2 separate regions of the Homo sapiens genome follow, and region 2 is linked to region 1. Evidence: promoter capture Hi-C in human tissues and cell types (Jung and others, 2019). All regions are on one chromosome and are shown on one strand. Each heading gives the region's core, a stretch centred on a gene start or on the middle of the fragment in contact. The rest is flanking DNA. Distances are from core to core; before and after follow the strand shown.

The links. Contacts are between HindIII fragments. The study calls those that stand out against the background at their distance.
Region 2: a contact is called between a fragment that was not itself captured here and the fragment with the promoter of NPY5R in region 1, in 2 of the 25 tissues and cell types used here (H1 embryonic stem cells and spleen).

What each region holds. Positions count from the first base shown.
Region 1 is chr4:163,342,165-163,345,904 of GRCh38, forward strand. It overlaps NPY5R (neuropeptide Y receptor Y5), which reads left to right and starts at 1,728. Exons shown (of 4, transcript NM_006174.4): 1 at 1,728-1,836; 2 at 3,550-3,589. It also overlaps a transcript of NPY1R not described here. The HindIII fragment of the contact is 9,678 bases long and covers 873-3,740 here.
Region 2 is chr4:163,274,882-163,278,621 of GRCh38, forward strand. No RefSeq gene overlaps it. Among named protein-coding and RNA genes, the nearest start is that of NPY1R, 56 kb to the right of the region's middle. The HindIII fragment of the contact is 3,613 bases long and covers 322-3,740 here.

The sequences.
Region 1 (3,740 bases), core at 478-2,977:
CTTCAACCTAAAGGTTCATATCATCAAAATAGAAAACAAATTTGTGGAAAATAAAAAATAAGATTTTTTAATACTTTTAATATGCAAAAGCCTGTAGCATAGACTAGTGTTTTGAAAGTCACAATGGGGTTCACTTGGAATTTGTTTTAAAGACAATGTGTATTTGAAGTGTACATGTTATGACTGTGCAAGAGATGGAAAGATAGAAATTTATGTGGCAATGTGTACTGCATTAACCGCAGAGACAGTGGAGTTAAGAAAGTCTAAAAAACAAGCCTTATTTTCTCAAGGTCATCCCTTCTTGACACTTTCATCCCCTACTCCTTACTGCAGAATCCCAGGTGCCTGCTCAGACGGCCTATTCTGTTAAGCTTTTGGGGAGAATATATTAATATTTCAGAAATAACACACAGAAGAATAAAACAGGAACTGTGTTTACTTGAGTTCTTTAAAAGCTCTTGGATGACTCTTTGACTGATGAAATAGCAATCTATACAGATCCCCTGAGTATTGAATGCTGAAATCCAGCAGAAAGGGGACACAAAAAATTTTCTTTGACCTCTTCTGTAACAGTGATGTCTGCCCCAGATGTTAGAATTACAAGTCACATTGCTCCCAAGGGGTACAGTTCTCTTCGGTTTATCCCACACGACTCTACTCAGCAGGAGATGCTGTCTGTTACATAATAGTTCTCAGTATTAAAGGGTACAATAACTACACCCTTTCTCATGGTAAAGCTATGTCCAAAGACACATGGACATCTACCCAATGTCTCTTTTCTCCCTTCTCTCCTTCTCTCTCTCTCTCTCTCTCACAGACACACACACACACACACACACACACACACACACACACGCGCGCGCGCCTAAAGTACCTGCCACCTAATGATTAGCTAAAAATAAAGCAAACCTGCGCAATACAGATTTGGAAACATTAGGGATGGAAATCATGTTGGGAAGGAACAGAAGGACAGGTTTTCTCTTCTTCTTTTGTGTGGGCTTTTTTCCCGTCTTTTTTTTTTTTTAACCTGTGACAATTCGTTTTTAGCCCTTCGTCTTCTCTTTGCTATTGAATATAGTCTTGAGCAGCGTTGATTTCATTTCAGCTTCACTCCCCTGCTCCTGCCACTTGCCCACACCCACAGCTGCCACTCCTTGGAGTGGGGAAACTTCCCTTCTATTCTGCTGGGCTCATTACCGCAGACGCTGTTGCCTCTCCTGAACATTGGGTCAGCCTCCCCACCTCCACTCTTCCTTACTTCAAAGAGGTGCAAAGGAAGAGCAGTGTTTTGTCTTTTTTCTTTCTTTCTTTCTATCACCACACCACCCCCCACCGTCCCCCACCCCAAACAAAGATAAAACCTGAGAGTCGAAGCTTGTTCTCAGGAATACTAAGAACTTAGGGGCACAGCCATCCTCACACCAGTCCAAGACTTCTCAGAGTTCACTACACAGGGTTGAGGGCTGGACCGGCAAAACTCGATTTGCCCATCAAGTTAACTTGGTCGGCCTGGGACCCGAGGCCAGGGTGAAGGGACGACATCCCGGGGCCCTGTGGCTTCTCCCTAGAGCGCCCAAACAGCGGCGTAGGTCTGGGACGCCCCCGGCCCCCGGCTTTGGAAGAGGCTGGCGCGGAGCAGGCGCCTTGGAGCAGGGTCTCGGGGGTCCCCGGAACAGTCACGTGTTCTCGAGACGCCGTTAAACCCCCGCCCCCTCTTCCCCACCGCCGCCTCCAGGTCCTGCTCCCGCTGCTGCCGCCACCGCCGGGGTGCAGGAGCGATCGCGCTGGGCCGCGCTCCCGGGAGCCCAGGGCCTGCAGCGGCCGGGGCGCCCCGAGGTACGGGCTCCCGCCCCTCCCTGCCAACCCCTTTCGCGCCGGGTAGGCCTGCACCGAGGGGCCGTGGCGGGTCCCCGCGCGGGCTGCGAGTCTGCGCAGGTCCCTGGGAGCCCGCACCCGTCTCTGGTGCCAGGGCGTTGTCGGGGGTCCCAAGAGAGCGGGGTGGGGAAGGTGAAGGGAGCGCGGCTGGAAAAATGGGGATTAGGGTGGCGGAACAGGCACTTGTCAGGAGTGAAGAGACAGCGGAGAGGGTACTGGGCTGAATTCTTTCGTGCCGAGCAGGTCCCTCCGGTTCCCAACTCACCCGGGTGGAGCAGGCGCGGGCCGAACCCGGGAGGAGAGTGTCGGGGATCCGCGAAGGAGCCTCCTGGGGATGGGGCGGGGGATGGACAAAGCGCTGCCCCCGGCTGGACGCGCTCTGGCTGCAGCCCGGCTGGCATCCGGAGCTGGGAACAGCAGCCCGCGGGGTGCCCGGGTCAGGGCTCAACCCTAGCGGGTCTCTGGCGAGGCCGGGGGCGCAGCCCGCGGGGCGCCACTCAGGCCGTCCAGCTGCCGCGCGGTCCAGCGCTGACCCGAGCCCGGGAGGCAGCTGCGCTCTAAGGTTTGCGCTCCTGTTTGCGAGGTGTCTTCATATAACAAATGCGAGCAATAACAAACATCCATAGAACTCGAATTCCAGAAACGGGAATTCTTTTTTCCAAGTTCACAGACCTTTAGTTAATCTTTTAAAGGAACTGAGGCGTTGTGTTGGACCAAAGCCAAAACGATTTTACCTTAGACCATGGAAAATAGCCTAAGGCTCTTTCAGCAGAATTTTGCAGTCCGAATGCAATTTTAGATTTCAGATTTCTCAAGGGAAGAGAAACTCTGCTGTTAGAATTTGGAAGGGAGGGTGGTGCATGCCTGTGTGTTTGTCAGCTGAGCAGAGCTGTATTTATCTTTCCAATTCAAATTGTGCCAGATTCTGGCTTTAAGAACAAACCATGGGAATATTTGAGAACATGGAATCATGCTGCTGTTCCACGATCACAGCAAAACAGACAATAGTTGATATTGTATCATTGCAGGAGGAAAAAGAATTACATATATTTTATTCTTTTGTGTGATTGTCATCCTTTGTGAAAAGAATGATGTGTATTTTCATAAAGCAAAAAATTATTCAAACAAAGAAACCTTATTTAAATGTACAAGTCAGACTTTTAATATCCTTTGAATTCCCTGCAGTTCCTCCTATTATTCTTGAGAACTATCTACTTTCTTAAAATACTTAAAATCTATTCAGAAGGTTTCATTTGTCTAGGTGTCAGATATAGAAGAGTTTATAAGAAAATTCCAGTAAACCTTTAAAAAGATATTATTTTTTATAAGTTGCCATAGTTTAATAAAGAACTTTTATTTTTCACACTTTTTACTCAGAGATTAAAGTTCTGTGTTTCAGCCTGGAAATTCTGATGGTGGGAGATACAACTAATACAAAAGAGAATGAGTAAATATAGTAATTAGGTATGACAAAAGTCTCATGCTGTCAATATCAGATTTCTTGTCAAATAATATTCCATGTTAAAATATTTTTTCTCTGGCTATATTTCATAATTTATATAGCAATTTCAGAAGATTCACATATATCATTACTTTTATAATAGATAAAATATGTTGCATAAAAATGTACAGCACTCGTAATAACACTTGTTGAAATTTGGATTTCCATTGTAGGTCTGCTCATTGTGTTTTTCAGGAAAAAGGAAGGGAAAGGGTAAGTTTAATGGAAAAAATCCTGCTTTTTTGTTTGTTTTTTCATTTTAAGTGCGTTCCTGTACCTTAGATTTTCAACTTAAATCTTATTGTACAAAATTTTCCTAATGTTTAAACTATCCCCTGGCTACCAGGAGGCACTTTTAAAAAAA
Region 2 (3,740 bases), core at 878-3,377, 67 kb before region 1:
CACAAAATTACTTGAATTTTCTGCATTTATTTTAGTTTTAAATTTAAAGATGACTTTTTAAACAACAAGAATATATATTTGAGCAATTTAGGATTCAGCGAAGTAGAGTCTATTTTGCTTATTCTCACTTATCTTGTTCAATGATCTCAGCAGACGCTACAATACAAGCACACAGAGAAGAGCAGATGGCCTGGAAAAAGAATCAAAGCAAATTTGGCATTCATTGTTACTGTAATTGCCACTTCTTTTTCTTTAAAATGAGAAAAATTATTATAGTTAGGTTTTGGAAATTTTCCTACAGACCTAGTGAAATCCAGGGGTGTTCCGAGACAGAGACTAGAAGAAAATCCTCTCATCCTTGCCCACTCTGTCCCACTAACTAATGAAGCCACCTGAAAATTGCCTGTGGAATAATTAGGTGAGGACTTTGCATTCATGAACTAGCTTCTGCAGCCTTTAATCCACCCCTGACTCTCTAGGAACAAACCAGACATTGGCAACATGTGGCAGGCTTAGGTTTATTTTTCGAAAGTATTTAAGGATTTTTTTGATTCTTTCTTTCTAAAGTCTTCTTAGGTTTATTTTAAATTCTAGGATCAAAATGATATAGTAATACTTCAGTTAGCCAGATTACCTGGGTAAAGTTTAGTCCTGTTAACTGGTGGTGTTTTTTGGGTGGTTTTGTTGTTGTTGTTGTTGTAGTTGTTGTTGTTGTTGTTTTTGAGGCAGAGTCTCACTTTGTCACTCAGGCTGGAGTGCAGTGGGACGATCTCAGCTCACCTCTGCTTCCCAGGTTCAAGCAATTCTCCTGCCTCAGCCTCCTGAGTAGCTGGGATTACAGGCGTGCACCTCATTGCCCCGCTAATTTTTTTATTTTTAGTAGAGATGGGGTTTCACCATGTTGGCCAGGCTGGTCTCAACCTCCTGACCTCAAGGCAGGCAGCCACCTCAGCCTCCCAAAGTGCTGGGATTACAGGTGTGAGCCACCACACCCAGCCTGGAGTTTAATGAAATGAAACAGGTTATTTTCATTTCAAAAATTGTTACTGAAAAATGTTTACAAATTCATTAGTGAATCAAGCGTTCCCACATAAAACCTAATTTCAGTGACCCTTATCCTAAACCTACCTGGAGTAGTGTATGGGTCTGTCCCTAGTGTGGTTACATAAAGCGCCAAGGTTCCTCGCCATAAGCAGTTTATTCCAAGAAAAAAAGAGTATCAAGAAGCATAGTTCAAGTTCTGAAAAGAAGCATGTTTCTAAACAGAGTTCTCAGATTGTCCTTTAATTCGGTCTCCATGAACACACACCTGAGTCCACAACAAGGCAGTTGCAATAAAAATAGGAGAAGAAAGAAAGAAAGAAGACCTGCACAGTGTGGAGCATGTGTTTGGATTTCAAACATGAGATGATGCCAACACCACAGACATTAGCACCCTTCACACTAGCAACCTGCATTTGCTGCCTGGGCATCAGTGGCCATTAGTGTCAGGAAAGGCTGCCTTAATCTTTAGAGGATTTATGACTAAAAATATTAGGGGCATTTTCTCACATGGAAATTAAAAAATAGTAATTCCAAACTGCTAAATACATGTAAGTAAATTTAAATAGAAATTCTGATTTTTGCCATAAAAAATCACGATTTTAAAAATAATTAATGTTAAATTATTTACAGAAATTTTTCTGATGCCATTTTTTTTTAGTTTCCTAAGCATGTGTTTCCCTTCCTATTTGCTAATCTAGGTTGGCTTTAATGGCAGTCCCGTAGAAGTGGGGAAAGTTGAGCATCAGTACTCTCAGCATTAATAGCATCTCGCTCAGAACAAAGATGCCTATGCCACCAGAAGGCATCAGTAGAGACAGAAAGCACAGACAGGGCAAGCTACAGCAGGAGAAGAGAAGCTTAGCAGGCACCACAGGTCATCAGGAGTACTAGTTTATCTAGCACACTTGGGAAACTGTCTGCAGTCTACAAGAACTATTCAGGAGGAATTTGTTAGGAGTCTAGAGTTTCTGCAGAGCAGTTGAGAAAAGAGAGAAAAATGGGTTTATAATAAGAATTGTGAGTCTATTTTTACTTTCAGGTTGATATGATCGGGGGGCATCTATATAAATGTGCATAAGATATGTGTGTGTAATAGAAGATAAAGAATATATTGCAAATAATTGAGTCTTGGTGATCGAAAACCTTGAGGTGCCATAATCAGAAATCATTGAACATTGCTTGTATTATAAATTAGCCTCAATGTACAAAAAGAATGCAGAGGTGATTGTATTTAATGTGCAACCTGCCATAATGTTCTGAAAGCTATTTTCTCTTGTATTCAATTTTCCATCATTGTGTTTTTGTTCTTGTTGTTTAAGGCTGCCAAGAATATTTCTGGTAAACATTTCAATTCAATTCAACAAGCATGTATTAAGCACGTACAATGTGTCAGTCAAAATTCAAGGTTTTGGTATGTAGATATGATTAACACATAGTCTTTATGTTCTAAAACCTCACAATGAAAAGATACACTAAAAAAATGACTAGAGACAGTATGACTAGGTTTAATCATATATAAACCGAATAAGTTGAAGTAGCCACAATAAAGTAGCAGCATATAAAAAAATACTTACTTTACTTGAGATATGTGGGGTTTCAATGAGAAACTACTTCTAAATGTAGGTATTGATCGATCTGTCCTGGGTGAAAAATAGAAGTCGGCCAGGCAATTAAGTAGGGGGTGGGATCCATGAGATTGTGAACAAAGTGACAGGGGTGTGAGAACATTTGGCCACTTGAGAAACTGAATGTACCTAGGTGTGACTGATGTGAAGGATATGTGTGGACATTTTGGGAGGTAAGCTTGAAAGGGTAAGCAGGGAGTTGAAATTAATCCTGAACATATGAGAAGCTGCTCATATTAGTAGTATATTAGGATTTGCAGGTGAGGAAATCCACCTCGCAGCTGTTTGGAAGGTAGATTTTAAATGATAATGAAGACACCATTACAGAAGTCTATCAAGAAATGACAGGCTGGGTGCGGTGGCTCATGCCTATAATCCCAGCACTTTGGGAGGCCAAGGCAGGTGGATCATGAGGTCAGGAGATGGAGACCATCCTGGCTAACCCGCTGAAACCCCATCTCTACTAAAAATACAAAAAATTAGCCAGGCGTGGTGGCGGGCGCCTGTAGTCCCAGCTACTCGGGAGGCTGAGTCAGGAGAATGGCGTGAACCCGGGAGGCGGAGCTTGCAGTGAGCTGTGATTGCGCCACTGCACTCTAGCCTAGGCGACAGAGCAAGACTCCATCTAAAAAAAAAAAAAAAAGATAGAAAGAAATGACAAACCATTCCAAGTATGGCCTTGGCACTAAGGTAGAAAGGGAAGAAAGAATTAAAATATTTCAGAGGTAATGTTTGGGGAAAAGGAGAAAGAAATTTAATTCTCATTTTTTTCTGGCAATTGATGATTCCACTAATGGAAACTAGCAAAGCTAAGTGGAAAAACAGATTTGGGTTTGTGTCCAGGGAAAGGCTAGTGGCTGTAGACATGGAAGGCAGATTTGCAAAGCTTGTGAGAGGTCTATGTGGAGATGTCAGAGTCATCAAGGAATGGGTATTTAAAGAGAAGTCTAGGAAGGAGAGCGATGTGTTATTATTGATCTTATCGCATTTCATGTGGATCCTCTTACACACTATGGTCTTCTGTTATCAAAATGTAAAATTCCCTTACTCTGTCTATTGAGTATGAAACAC